Regions from separate parts of the Homo sapiens genome. Here all the other regions are linked to region 5. Evidence: promoter capture Hi-C in 16 types of primary human blood cells and fetal thymus (Javierre and others, 2016). All regions are on one chromosome and are shown on one strand. The core of a region is centred on a gene start or on the middle of the fragment in contact, and the rest is flanking DNA. Distances in the headings are between cores, read along the strand shown. Region 1 overlaps CATSPERB (catsper channel auxiliary subunit beta). Region 2 overlaps CATSPERB (catsper channel auxiliary subunit beta). Region 3 overlaps CATSPERB (catsper channel auxiliary subunit beta). Region 4 overlaps CATSPERB (catsper channel auxiliary subunit beta). Region 5 holds the start of TC2N (tandem C2 domains, nuclear).

Region 1 (2,804 bases), core at 18-2,517, 210 kb before region 5:
TTCATTTATTTCACAATCATATAAAGTCTGATCACCAGAATCTTAGGTTGACACAGCTGCTGTCTCAACACATGATTCAGACATACAAACCACATGGATTAATCTTGATACTGACATAAGTTAAACAAAAGCTTTATTGACAGAATAGAGAATAAATAAACTGAGTGGTGAAGATCTGGAGAAATAGCATCAGGATTTTGTGGTCTGTCCTTATTCTCAAACAAGGAAGGACCAATAGAGGAGATTGTATAACTGTAAAACTGCTTTTGCTGGTGAACATCAAGGACAAAATATTGAGGCCTGCAAAACCATGCTTTTTGAAGTTATATCAGAAACTTCGTCATTTAAAATCGTATCAGAGACTGAAGATCAGAAGAAACTGGAGATCAGAAGAAATTTTAAACTATACAATAAAAAATGCTGTGTGTTAAAAACAACAAACAAAAAAACACAGCCTCTGTCTTGTCTTGGTGACAGTGTTTTTCTAATTTCTGTTAGACCTAATAAGATATCTCCAAGTCTACCTCAATCTCAAAAGTTACCCAATAATCTATAATAGTTCATTGTTGAGGCAATATTGAGAGAAGGAAGGTAAATCAACAAAATCCTGAAGGCTCTCGGTTATACCCTTCTAACAAGTAAGAAGGTGTATTGGTCCCTTTTCATGCTGCTGATCAAGACATGCCCGAGACTGGGCAATTTACAAAAGAAAGACATTTAATTAGACTTACAGTTCCACATGGCTGGGGAAGATCTCACAATCATGGCAGAGGGTGGAAGGCACTTCTTACATGGTTGCAGCAAGAGAGAAATGAGGAGGAAGCAAAAGCGGAAACCCCTTATAAACCCATAAGATCTTGTGAGACTTATTCACTATCATGAGAATAGCACAGGAAAAACCAGCCCCCATGATTTGATTACCTCCCCCTGGGTCCCTCCCACATGTGGGAATTCTGGGAGATACAACTCAAGTTGAGATTTGGGTTGGGACACAGCCAAACCATATAAGAAGGTGACAGTGGATGAGAAGATATCAAAAGGAAAAGTAAAGGGAAAAATCAAGCCCTCATAAGTGAAGCCAGGTTTACCACTTTCCAAGGCACTTTACTGAGTTGAGAAAATGGGTCCAAGTCCTATCTAAATGAGGTGAAGCAGATGGGTCTCAAGAATAATTCACCTACACTATGTTAGAGCAAATAGAAGATCTGACCAGTGCTGCACCTTTAATGATGAACTTGATGGAAACAGGAAGAGTGGGAAGAACAGAAGAAGAAGGAAGGAAAAGGGATAAAGAAGGAGGTGGGTGAGTAGAGGAGGGGAGTAGGGAAGATTAGAAAAAGAGGGATTATAGAGAGGAGGCAGAGCAAGATGGCTGAATAGAGCCTCCAGTGATTATCCACCCCTGCAGGAACATCAAATTGAACAATGATCCACACAAGAAAGCACCTTTATAAGAACCAGAAATCAGCTTGGGTACCAGCTTGGCCACAGTGGACAATTCACGAAGTGGGCTCCTGGGGTCTCTGATTCCAGGACTTGGCTCTTGTGTGGCATTTCTAAACCTGCCCTGGGCCAGAGTGGGGCCACTGCCCTGAAAGGAGAAATCCAGGACTGGCAGCATTCACCAGAAGCTGACTGAAGAGCCCTTGGACCTTGAGTGAATAGTGGCGGTAGCCAGGGGGTAATTGCCATGGGCTTGGGGTGGTGGTGGCCATGGAGAGAGACTGCTCTGCTTCAGGATAAAGGAGGGAAGAGTAAGAAAGACTTTGTCTTGCAGCTTGGGTGCCAGCTTAGCCGCAATAGAATAGAATACCACATAGACTCTAAGGGTCTCAACTTCCTTGGCTTCCAGATGGCATCTCTGGACCTAGCTGGGGCTGGGGGCAACTCACTGCCCTGAAGGGAAGATCATAACCCTGGCTGGACTCATCACCTGCTGATTATAGAGCTCTTGGGCCTAGAGTGAACATAGGTAGTAGCCAGGCAGTGGAAACTGTGGGCCTTGGGCAAGACCTGGTGCTGTGCTGGCTCTGGGTTTGACCCAGTGCAGTCCTAGTGGTGGTGGCTACAAGGGTGCTTGCATCACCCCTCCCCTAGCTCCAGGCAGCTTAGCACAGAGAAAGAGACACTATTTGTTTGGTGGAAAGTAAGGTAAGAGAACAAAAGTCTCTTCCTGGTAATACAGTCTCTTCCTGTAATACCTGGTAATACAGTCTCTTCCTGTAATACCTGGTAATACAGGTAATACAAGTTCTCCTGGATCTTACATAAGACCACCAAGGCAGTACTTCTACAAGTTGGCAATAGCCAAAGCATTACTGGGCTTGAGGTACCTCCTAATGCAGATTCAGCTGCAGTGAGCAAAGACTTAGATCACAACACTCAAGTCCCTTTGAATACTTGGAAAGCTTTCCCAAGAAAGACAGGTACGAACAAGCCCAGACTGTGAAAACTAAAATAAATACCAAACTCTTTAATCCCCAGACACCAATCAATGTCCAGAAGCATCAAGACCATCCAGGAGAACATGACCTCACCAAAGGAACAAAATAAGGCACCAGAGACCGATCTTGGAGAGACAGAGATATGTGACCTTTCAGACAGAGAATTCAGAATAGCTGTTGTGAGAAAACTCAAGGAAATTCAAGATAATATAGAGAAGGAATCCAGAATCCTGTCAGATAAATTTAGCAAAGAGATTGAAACAATTAAAAAGAATCAAGCAGAATTCTGGAGCTGAAAAATGCAATTGACATACTGAAGAATTATCAGAGTCTCTTAATAGCAGAATTGATAAAGCAGAA
Region 2 (2,784 bases), core at 16-2,515, 240 kb before region 5:
TATGGTGGCACATGCCTGTAATCCCAGCTACTCAGGAGGCTGAGGCAGTGGGATCACTTGAGCCTGTGAGGTGGAGGTTGCAGTGAGCTGAGATAGTGCCACTGCACTCCAGCGTGGGTGACAGAGCCAGACCCTGTCTCAAAAAAGAAAATAAAGAACTCTAAATGGGCCACAGACTTAAATATAAAATGTAAAACTATAAAACTCCTAAGAAGATAACATAGGAGAAAATCTAGATGACCTTGGGTATGGCAATTACTTTTTTCCCTCAATTAAAAAAATTATGTTAAAATATATGCTATGGTTTTAATGTATTCCTCAAAGTTCATGTGTTGAAAACACAATTTCCAATGCAAGAGTGTTGAGAGGTGGGACTTTTTTTTTTTTTTTTTTTTTTTTGAGACAGAGTCTTGCTCTGCCGCCAGCCTGGAGTGCAGTGGCGCCATCTCAGCTCACTGCAACCTGAGAGGTGGGACTTTTAAGGGGTGATTAGATCATGAGGCTTTGCCCTCACGAATGGATGAATGCCATTATTGCAGGAGTGGGTTAATTATTGTGTGAGTGGGTTCCTGATAAAAGAATGAATTCAGTCCCTTCCCTCCCCCTGTCTTTCTCTCTCTCTTTTGCACATGAGTGCTTCATATGCGTGCTCACATGTGCTCACCCTTCTGCCTTCCACCATGGGATGACGGAGCATGAGGCCCTCACCAGATGTGGGCCCCCCAGTCTTGGATTTCCCACCCTCCAGAACTGTAAGAAATAAATTTCTTTTCTTTATACATTACCCAGTCTGTGATATTCTATTATAGCAGCATGAAACAGACTAAGAAGATACACCTAACAAAATTTACCATCTTCATGCAATGACTGTTGAATACAACACCAAAGACACAATCCATGAAAGAGAAAATTGATAAATTTCTCTCCAGTTTTCCTAAACACAAGTAAAACCATTAAGTAATTTGGATAAAACAGTGGATTACATGAACCAATTTATGAACAAATAGTTTATAAACAAAATATACCAAAAATAGCTAACAAACATTTGATTAACATTTGGTCGACCTCATTTGTAATAGAAGAAATTGCAATTACAACAATGGGATACAATTTTTAACCAATTAGTAAAGATTTTTAAATGACAGTGTTAAGCAGTGAACACTGAATTTGTGTTAAAAATACATGCTATGGTTTGCATGTATCTCTCATTAGTAATTGGTACCTTACTAAAATTACAAACTTACACTCTGAAATATCCTGTCAAGAGAATTAGAAGACAAGCCACATACTAGGAGAAAATATTTTCAAAAGACATATAAAGGACTGTTATCCAAAATAAACTGTAGGGGAAGGGAGAAGAAACCTCTTTTTCCTCTATTCTCCTTGGTTCTGTAACTGAGACCCTGACAATTATACTGACAAATACAGATTAACAAGAGAAAAACAGGTGGAATTTATTAACATGTGCATTGTGCTTACATGCAGGAAAAACAGCAGTGATGAGTAGCTAAAAAGGGTAGTTAGAACATGGGGCTTCATAACAAATTTTTAGAGAAGTGACAAGACAAAGAAAAATGGGCTTAGGTTTTTAGGGTCAGCAAACTGTGGAAGGTAAATAAATGGAGGGAACTAATGGAAGATAAGGGTTGTTTTGAGAAGGTTTCTTCTGTAAATTCTTTGTGTCTCTGGGTTTATTAATAGTCTAGAGTTGCTTGTGCCTGTAATCCCAGCTACTCTGGAGGAAAGCCTGAGGCAGGAGGGTTGCTTGAGGCCAGGAGTTGGAGACCAGCTTGGATGCAACATAGTGAGATCTTGCCTCTAAAAACATTTAAAAATAAAATAAACTAGCTGGGTGTGGTGGCACATGCCTGTAGTCCCAGCTACATGGGAGGCTGAGGCAGGAGGATTGCTTGAGCCCAGGAGTTCGAGGCTGCAGTGAGCTATGATTGCACCACTGCACTCCAGCCTGGGTAACAGAGTGAGAATCTGTCTCTAAAAAGAAAAAAATATATATTTATATAGTCTAGAGTTATCTTCAGTGATTAAGAATCATTCTGCCCTTTCTGGTGGGAGGGGGCAAAGAGTTTTTCTTGTGCTTGTTTTTCCTTAATTTCCTTCAGCTCAAATAATCTTTATGCCAAAGTGGCATATTCTTTGTTTTTTTGTTTTGTTTTGTTTGGAAATTGGAGGTCTCACTATTTTGCCCAGACTAGGCTTGAACTTGAGATCCTCCTGCCTCAGACTCTGTAGTAGCTGCACCTACAGGCACACACCACTGCATGGTTCTGGGTTGGCATAATCTGATCTCCTACAATACAAAAATCTCTAATAATATAACAATAAGAAAGTGTACAACCTGATTTAAAAAATGGGCCAAAGACCTTAACAGATACCTCACCAAAGAATATATGCAGATGGCAGGTAACTATAGCAAAAAATGTTCTACATCATATACTGATATGGTTTGGCTCAATGTCCCCACCCAAATCTCATCTTGAATTGTAATCCCCACGTGTCAAGGGAGGGACCTGGTGGGAGGTGGTTGGATCATGGGGGCGGTTTTCCCCATGCTGTTCTCATAACAGTGAGGGAGTTCTCATGAGATCTGATGGTTTTAAAAATGGCAGTTTCCCCTGCACTGTCTCTTTCTCCTGCCGCCATGTAAGACGTGCCTTGCTTCCCCTTCATCTTCCACCATGGCCTCCCCAGCCATGCAGAACTGTGAGTCAATTAAACCTCTTTCCTTTATAAATTACCCAGTTTCAGGTATTTCTTTATAGCAGT
Region 3 (3,083 bases), core at 9-2,508, 160 kb before region 5:
AAATGCAAACATAAACTAAGTAATGTGGTATTTCAAGAACAAAAATACCTATTTATACATGGTAGGAATAGCAGATAATCTCTGGGAGAAAGTAACATATTAATGGAGGGCATGGGATAAATGAAATTAGGAGACACACTAAAGTCACAATTAACATGGCAAAAAGTCACAGTAAGAAAACATACTTAGTATATCATACTTGGAAGTAGACAAGATACAGTATTGAATAATAAATTTTTAGGTATTTTTAGGAAACAATTTTCCTTCCCTATGTCTATGCATTTATTTCTGCTGCCAGTTAAACATTACTGTTACAAAATATAAAAGGCCAATGTCAACATTTAATGAAGCTGTAGACCTACCATCAACTATTGTATCCACAATGAAGCCTAGTAATGCCACATCATTGGCACAGGGGCATTTTGTCACTTTGAGATCTACCACATGTGGATATAATTTACTGATTTCACTTTCTGGAATCACATCCCCAGGAGTCCACTGAAGAATCGGTTCTGTGGAAATCAAATTTGGGTGTTTAAATTGTGGGAGCACCCTTGAAAATGGATGCTACTTTCCTTTAAAGGTTTTAAAAGAACTATGTAAAGAAACTATTCTATAGTTCAAAAAAGGTGCATTACCTCACTCTGCATTGGTTAAAAATCAGTCAGTGACTATTTTCCAGGATATAAGGAGTAAAGTCTAATTCCCCTTGGTGGGGGGCTGGCAAGGTTACATTGCAGAAGAGCATGTGGAATGAGAGAGATTGCTTTGGCCACATTTGAAAAATACCATTTGCCACAGGATCTATCCCTAGAAATGGAATTGCTGGATCACAGAATACGCACATTTATAACTTCTGAGCCCACTCATTTACTTTTTGTTCTCTTCCCAATCCCACTGAAATAGCAGTAGATATATAAAAATGGGAATAAATCCAGAGTAGCAGTGGAGAACAGGGACAGTTATCATTAGTGGCCAAGAGACTGAGAGGGATTTCTGGAAGGTAGTTGAAAAATACTATTTGCCACAGGATCTATCTGTATAAATGGAATTGCTGGATCACAGAATATATTTATAACTTCTGCTTCTAGAGCCCACTCATTTACTTTTTGTTCTCTTCCCAATCTCATTGAAACAACAGTAGGTAGATGAAAATGAGTAAAATCCAGAGTAGCAGTGGTGAACAGGGACAGTTATCATTAGGGGCCAAGAGACTTAGAAGGATTTCTGCAAGATAGAAGTTGGGAATGAGATGCAGAAGAGAAAGCAATCAGAGGTGAAGCATCTCCAATGCAGCACAGGCAGAATAGCAGCACTAGTGGTGAATAAGGTCTTTCACGTGGCAAACCAGGCCTTCCAGAATCTGACGTCCTCTTGGTTCCTCAGCTTTACTTCTTGCCAGAACTGGCCTCCCATTACAGGCTCTAGTTTGTGGGGCTTTGAATATCTGTTTTTCTCACAACCCTATTTTTCAGTCCTCAATGTGAATGTCTCCCTCTTTGGGAAGCCTTCCATGACGCCCTAGAATGAGTGAGGCTCTCCTCCCAGGTGCTCCAATAGGACTCTGCACTCACTGTAACTAGAAGAATCAGGGTACACTCTTCCTCACCAGACCAGGGTAGACAATGAGCCTTTCGAAAGAACGTCATCAGACAAGGCGTCACAAATTTTAAAACTTAAAATATTACTTTTGGATATGCAAAGGATTGGAGCTAAAGTCGAATTTTCATGCATTAATAAAAGGGAGGGTTTTTTTTCTTTTAGAAAAAAATGAGAAAAAAAAGAGTACAAAAAGTAAGCCAGGGCAATTTGAAAGACAACTGCTGTCTGAATTTCAAAAATAGTCAAAGGACTTTTAAAAGCAGAGATAACTGATAACCAGTTATTTAGCTATTTACATTCTCCTCTGTCTCCCCAACTTTCAATAAAATCTGCTACAAACCCAAAGACTTTATGTGATATTTTTTTCACTTTGTGCAAAGCAAGAAAACAAGCTAACTTTTCATCTGGGTTGACGTAGTGCAGCACAAGGACAGCCAAGAAGGGAAAGAGACACAATCTCTAACTACACTAATTCACCAGGAAGTCACTCCAGAATTCAAAGAAATGTGGGGCAAAGCAGCTGACGTTGCAGGGTATAATATTTGTTTGCAGACCATTCACACCCAGGTCAGGGAGATTTCAGCTTACCACTGGACATCACGGAGCTGACAATGCCCCCCTACTTATATACAAGTTCCTGAAGTCAGGTAGTATATCTTAAGCATTTTAAGAACAAGGAACTGATTAAAAGTTTTGACTGCTACTAAGAAGCTAAAAAGGGGACAGAAAAGTGACCAATATGAAGGTCACTGGTGACTGTGATTAGCAACAGTTTGAGTAGCGTGGAGGAGATGGAAACAAATGAGTGGTTTGGGGTGTGGATTGGATATGAAGAAATAGAGACAAGGTTTTACACTCTCTTTTGAGTTCAGTAGTGAATAAAGATTTCTAACTCTAGCCTTAACTCTTGATTCCTATTTCCCAGTGTCTGCTTCTCCTGTCTTCAGCATTTTGGTGAATGATATCATCCTCTACTTGAATGCTTGAGTAAGAAATCCAGGCATCATCCTTGTTAATTCTGTTTTCCCCCATCTTAGTCCACCAAGAAGCCATAGCAGCTCTACTTTCAAAATCTATTCTGAAGGCTCTGCTCACCACCTCCACTGCTAATGCTACTGTCCATCTACTCCAGACCTTCTCAAGGGGACTATTGCAACAACTGCTACCAATTTCCTTTATTCCATTCTTGCTATCCTTCCTCAAGAGTTATTCTCTACATAGCAGCCAAAATGGTCTTTTCATTATAAAAGATAAATCAGAATTTATTAGTTCTCTGCTTAAAATACCCCAATGGCTTTAAGTTATAATTACAATAAAGTCCACACTTTTTACCAAGATTCCTGCCAGCTTCTCCAAACTCATGATCCACCACTCTGTCATTTACTATGCTTCAGCAACACTAGTCTCCCTTTAGTTCCTCAAACAGATCAATCTCATCTCCACATCTGGAGCTTTCAAAGATCTACCAATTTGTGAAGCTT
Region 4 (2,924 bases), core at 269-2,768, 190 kb before region 5:
GGATGTAGCTGCTTGCGACATTGTCTGGGCAGGTACATCATCTTTATCTGTGGCACCACTTGAGCTTTGTTCTGTTTTGACCTAGCTGCTCATGGGGCCATCTGAAGTTGAGACAAGGTTTCAGGACTTTTATCTAGTCCCCTTGATGGGGAATCAGCCTGGGAGTGCACCATCTGAATCTGTGTATGTATGTGATCTACATTTGGGCCCTTATCTACTTGCAACTTTCTTTCCTTCTTTCTCTACCCTTTAAGGCAGCCTGTCTAAGCCCCCCACTCAATCTAGGGATCCAACCCTGAAGTAGAACAGCTTTTGTCACCCTGGTTCTTGGCTGGGTTGCTCTTTCTCGGACCCCAAAGTACTTCTCAGAGCTGTGCCAAATCTTATGGGGGAAAGAAGCATGTGAATTCTTCTGTGGGTTATCTAAATGGGCCTGTATCCCACTTACGGTTTTCAATGTTATTTGTCGGAAATACCTGGGATAAATGTTTAAACAGTCCCAACTCCAATTCTTTTGCCCTTTCTGTCCACTTGTTTTGCCATCTCATTTGTTGCCCTTCCATTACTGCTTACTGGGATTGCAGCAGGACCTGAACTTAGATTAAGGTTGATGTGTTAAAAAAAAGGCTATATTGGTCATCGCCAGTCATTAGACTGTTGGGGAAATTAATTCTTTTACATGTTTGGCTCTCCTGACTGTGTGGCAAAATTTACACAGGCATGCCTATTGGGACCATGAATGGTACCATCAACACTGGTTGTGTAAAATAAGGAGGATTCACCCAACTCCTGGCAATCTAGTTGCAGGGAATTATTGATACAGAGGCAAAAGCAAGGCATCAATATAGGCTGCTCCTCTGCTCACTAAAGGCCCCTGATTTTGTCATCCTCTTTGGGACTCCAGCTGGTCACATATTATGGTCCATTTCTGTGCACATTTTAAACTGAGGGGCAAGTTATAGCAAAAAAAATTCAGAGCTCACATGGTTAATTTGCAACTATAAAGTTAATCAGAGTTCTAAAGTTCTCTATCTTCTTTTTTTTTTTCTGCCTGCCTTGAATCTGCTTTGAATCTGCTTTTACTAAGCTGTGGTGCTAAGACTCATTATTTATGTTCTAACTGAAATGTAAACATTGGAAGCTCATTTGGAATGGAAGAAAAAAAGGATAAAAGAGACTTTTAAAAACTGAACTGCCACATGAAATTTAAATTAGTTTTTTCAAATTCTGTAAGGAATGTCAATGGTATGGAACCAAAAAAGAGCCCGTATAGCCAAGACAATCCTAAGCAAAAAGAACAAAGCTGGAAGCATCATGCTACCTGACTTCGAACTATACTACAAGTCTACAGTAACCAATACAGCATGGTACTGGTACCAAAACAGACATCTAGACCAATGGAACATAACAGAGACTTCAGAAATAACACCACACATCTACAACCATCTCATCTTCGAAAAACCTGAGAAAAACAAGCAATGGGGAAAGAATTCCCTATTTAATAAATGGTGCTGGGAAAACTGGCTAGCCATATGCAGAAAACTGAAACTGAACCCCTTCCTCACACCTTATAGAAAAATTAATTCAAGATGGATTAAACACTTAAATGTAAAACCCAAAGCCATAAAAATCCTGGAAGAAAACCTAGGCAATACCATTCAGGACATAGGCATGGGCAAAGACTTCATGATGAAAACACCAAAAGCAATTGTAAGAAAAGCCAAAATTGACAAACAGGATCTAATTAAACTAAAGAGCTTCTGCACAGCAAAAGAAACTATCATTAGAGGGAACAGGCAACCTACGAATGGGAGAATATTTTTGTAATCTACCCAAGAATCTACAAAGAATCTACAAGGAACTTAAACAAATTTACAAGAAAAAAAATCCCATCAAAAAGTGGGCAAAGGATATGAACAGACACTTCTCAAAATAAGACATTTATGCAGCCAAGAAACATATGAAAAAAGAGTGCAACATCACTAATCATTAAAGAAATGCAAATCAAAACCACAATGAGATACCATCTTATACCTGTCAGAATGGTGATTATTAAAAAGCCAAGAAACAATAGATGCTGGCAAGGCTGTGGAGAAATAGGAACGCTTTTACACTGTTGGTGGGAATGTAAATTAGTTCAGCCATTGTGGAGACAGTGTGGCAATTCCTCAAGGATCTAGAACCAGAAATGTCATTTGACCTAGCAATCCCATTACTGGGTATATACTCTAAGGAAAATAAATCATTCTACTATAAAGGCACATGCGCATTTGGGCCCTTATCTACTTGCTACTGTATTGCAGCACTAGTTACAATAGCAAAGACATGCAACCAACCCAAATACCCATCAATGGTAGACGGGATAAAGAAAATGGGTACATGTACACCATGGAATACTATGCAGCCCTAAAAAGGAATGAGATCATGTCCTTTGCAGGGACATGGATGAAGCTGGAAGCCATAATCCTCAGCAAACTAACACAGGAACAGAAGAAAACCAAACACCGCATGTTCTTACTCATAAGTGGGAGTTGAACAGTGAGAACACATGGACACAGGGAAGGGAACAACACACACCAGGGCCAGTTGGCAGGTGGGGGGCAAGGGGGGAGAGAGCATTAGGACAAATAGCTAATGCATGTGGGGCTTAAAACCTAGATGACAGTTGAAAGATGCAGCAAACCACCATGGCACATATATACCTATGTAACGAGCCTACACGTTCTGCACTTGTATCCTGGAACTTAAAGTAAAATAAAAAACAAAACTGAACTGCCGTAAAGACTGCTTTAGCCAAATTTTGGTCCATTGCCTTTCTTGGATTACCTACTAAGGCAAACAAAGTTCAGCCATGTGAACAGATTCCAATTTTGTCACAAAAATAATTCAGATCCAGCTATCTTTTATAAAATGATGAGATTATA
Region 5 (2,768 bases), core at 61-2,560:
TTGAAACCACTGAAAATGAAATAATCAGACCTACTTAAATGTTTTTACCATCTGGGCAAATAACACCCCAAGGGCCAAGACTTACCTAAGAAAGTGTCTGAAGTATGTTACCCAAGCCTGAGAGGCAACAGGTAGGTGGATTTTGTGCCAATTAGAAAGTGTTATGATTGGCAAACCACTGCAAAACTCTGAAATTGCAGTGAAATGGAAATGCTGGCTGTCATCCCCAAAGTACATTTCAAGGAATCACAAAACTTCAGAATTAGAAGCAATTATTTAGGATGAACGTTTTCACCCACATGAAAGTTGGAAGATGAGGTGGTAACACGAGAGCTTTTGCAGGCGTCCCTACTCTTAATCCTGCGCCCCTTCCACCTTGGTACCCTTCATTCTTCAGGACCTGATGGAGTGGTACAAAGCAGAGGTCACTTGACAAGCTCAGCCCAGCTCCTGGATGGGGCAAAGCTGACAAGGAATAGGCACAGGGAGCCTGGAGATCTCAGGGTCCAGGAAACAGCCTGCCCCATTAGAACTGCACAGCAGAGCACAGCACTGGGATCAGAGAGCAGGCTCATCCCCAGTCTTGTACAAAAAATAACATTTGATGATTCCCAAGGGGTAGGTAAAGCAAGTAGCATTTGGGGTTCCAGCAGCCTCTAGAACTGTTTCCCAAATGTTTGGAGCTTGACTTTGCAGTATACACTTTGCCCTGGACTGTTTTTCTCTTAATTTTTAGGCCCAAGTGTATTTTAAGGTAAATGGATCCCACATGCCTCTGGTGCATTTACACTGAACCCATCAGACCACATTTTGAAAGCGCAATTTGAGGTCCAAGAAGCCCTTGGAGGCTGCTTTTATGAGCCTGAGTTTCTTTTCTTAGAAGCAGGAAGCCACATTTTGACATGAACAAATAAAACACAAACCTTAAAGACTCGGATCTGGTTCCAAATGTGGCACCTCTGAAACCAGTGGGTCCTCAAATCATCAAGACAGAAAGCTTCCCAGTTTTCTTTTTGAGAAGTTCATGGAGACTTACCCCTGTGTTCTGTTGAGCCCAGAGGCAGTGGTTCGGAGGCGCTCGGTGCAAAGCTCACGTAAACCTTCAGCATTTCTGATTCCATCCTTCTTCCCAGCCCCTGAGTCTCCCTACACAGCAGGGACCCAGGCTCACTGCTGCCTTCTGGCCTTTGCTTTTCGGAGCCGAGCTGAGTGAGTCCCAAGGGAATCACCCTCTGTTTTATAAGCTTTGAAACCAGAGCATCCTGAGCCATTTGGTGCTGATGTGATTGCTAACACCACTTGACCCTGACTGAAGAACCACAACTAGGCATGGTTTAGATGTGCTTAGTTAGAGAAAAAAATAACCACAGCCAACAGCAAAGTGAGGTGTGTGGTGTGGGTGTGAGAAATGCTCTTGGGGTGAGGAGGGAGGACTTGCAGCTTCTTGGATGCTACAGGGCGTGGAACATGCTGTTTCCTTCCACTGAAGGCCTAAGATACTACTAAGTGGAACAGGAGAATTCCCTGGCCCCCTCACAGGATGTGCAACAGGGGTGTGGCTCTCTCTTCAGCCACCCCAAGCTAAAACCCCTTATGGGAAGGGGAGCACGCAGACAGGCAGGTGCAGGAACCAGGGTGAGCACTTTTGGGCCCCAGCCCCATGACAGCATCCCGGGGTCGGTGTCTGTGACTTCCAAAGCCCGAGTAGGCACTGAAACAGTGCAGTCTTTCAGCCTTGCCATCCGTGGACAGCTTAAGCGTTAACCAGCTTAGTGGACCCTCTCCCTTTTTGCCAGGGCAGAGGGCCAGTGTGACAGTTTCCTGTATCCCGAGCTCTTGTCCAGCATCCCGGAGGGATCAGGTCACACATGGATTTGCAGGATGAATGCAGGGGTTTTATTGAGTGGTGGAGGTGGCTCTAAGTAGGATGGATGGGGAGCTGGACAGGGGATGGAGTGGGAAGATGATCTTCCCCTGGAGTTTGGCCATCCAGTGGCCAGTTTTCAGATCGTCTCCAGTCGAATTCCTCCCAATGTTCCTTCTCTTCTCTCCTTCTTTGCCGTGCTTTTCTGCCATTCATGTCTGCTCATCTTCTTGTCTCCCCGTCTGCTTCTGGAGCCTGGAGCCTGGGGTTCAGGGTTTATATGGGTACAGGATAGGGGACATGGCAGGCCAAAAGGCAACTTTTTAGGGATGAAAACAGGAATGGCTGTCCTCATTTAGGGCCATGGGTACCCAGGCTTGAGGGTGGGGCCTTTGCCAGGGAACCACCCTCTTCTACCCAGTATTTCCCTGTCTCCTGTCCATATCACAAGGATCTGTGGAATGCCTACTAAGACTAGGGGTCCAGGACACAACTCCTGATAGGCACTGTGGGGGTCCTTAATGAATACCTCACCAACAGGTAGGATGGGAGCACCCTCAGATGGATCTGTAGACTCCACCTCAGCTATCAGGGAGTGCACTTTTTTCCTGAAGCCTTGGGTTGATTCCTGGGATGGCACATAAAGACAGCCATCCCAACCTGTTCTCCTGTGACTTGCAATGTTGACTCTCTTGGCCCCTGCACAGGGTTCTAAGACTTGAAGGATGTCCAGAGGCCCTGACCAGGAAAAGAATAATGTATCCTACAATGAGCAGAAAAGACATTGAGGGCAAGGCAGCTAGGGCTCCAGCCCCATCTGTCCACCTCTCTTTCTAGGGTTTATAACAATACATTCTCAACTCTGGCTACATAGTCAAGTTTTCAAAAATCCTGATGGCCGGGC

The links. Contacts are between HindIII fragments. The CHiCAGO score rates a contact against its expected background, and 5 or more counts as called.
Region 1: a fragment that was not itself captured here is called in contact with the fragment with the promoter of TC2N in region 5 in 7 of 17 cell types (megakaryocytes, M2 macrophages, M1 macrophages and 4 more); the score reaches 14.3 in megakaryocytes.
Region 2: a contact is called between a fragment that was not itself captured here and the fragment with the promoter of TC2N in region 5, in 3 of 17 cell types (megakaryocytes, M2 macrophages and M1 macrophages). The highest score is 7.4, in megakaryocytes.
Region 3: a fragment that was not itself captured here is called in contact with the fragment with the promoter of TC2N in region 5 in 2 of 17 cell types (M2 macrophages and megakaryocytes); the score reaches 5.4 in M2 macrophages.
Region 4: a fragment that was not itself captured here is called in contact with the fragment with the promoter of TC2N in region 5 in 2 of 17 cell types (M2 macrophages and megakaryocytes); the score reaches 6.2 in M2 macrophages.

The regions. Positions count from the first base shown.
Region 1 is chr14:91,652,789-91,655,592 of GRCh38, forward strand. The region is part of intron 15 of CATSPERB (catsper channel auxiliary subunit beta); the gene reads right to left. Among named protein-coding and RNA genes, the nearest start is that of CATSPERB, 78 kb to the right of the region's middle. The HindIII fragment of the contact is 2,277 bases long and covers 130-2,406 here.
Region 2 is chr14:91,625,985-91,628,768 of GRCh38, forward strand. The region is part of intron 17 of CATSPERB (catsper channel auxiliary subunit beta); the gene reads right to left. Among named protein-coding and RNA genes, the nearest start is that of CATSPERB, 100 kb to the right of the region's middle. The HindIII fragment of the contact is 3,656 bases long and covers 1-2,784 here.
Region 3 is chr14:91,704,190-91,707,272 of GRCh38, forward strand. CATSPERB (catsper channel auxiliary subunit beta) reads right to left here. Exons shown (of 27, transcript NM_024764.4): 7 at 363-512. Among named protein-coding and RNA genes, the nearest start is that of CATSPERB, 26 kb to the right of the region's middle. The HindIII fragment of the contact is 3,640 bases long and covers 1-3,078 here.
Region 4 is chr14:91,675,488-91,678,411 of GRCh38, forward strand. All of the region lies in intron 11 of CATSPERB (catsper channel auxiliary subunit beta), which reads right to left. Among named protein-coding and RNA genes, the nearest start is that of CATSPERB, 55 kb to the right of the region's middle. The HindIII fragment of the contact is 3,861 bases long and covers 1-2,924 here.
Region 5 is chr14:91,866,226-91,868,993 of GRCh38, forward strand. TC2N (tandem C2 domains, nuclear) reads right to left here and starts at 1,311. Exons shown (of 12, transcript NM_001128596.3): 1 at 1,037-1,311. RefSeq lists an enhancer at 1,477-1,526. The HindIII fragment of the contact is 17,848 bases long and covers 1,243-2,768 here.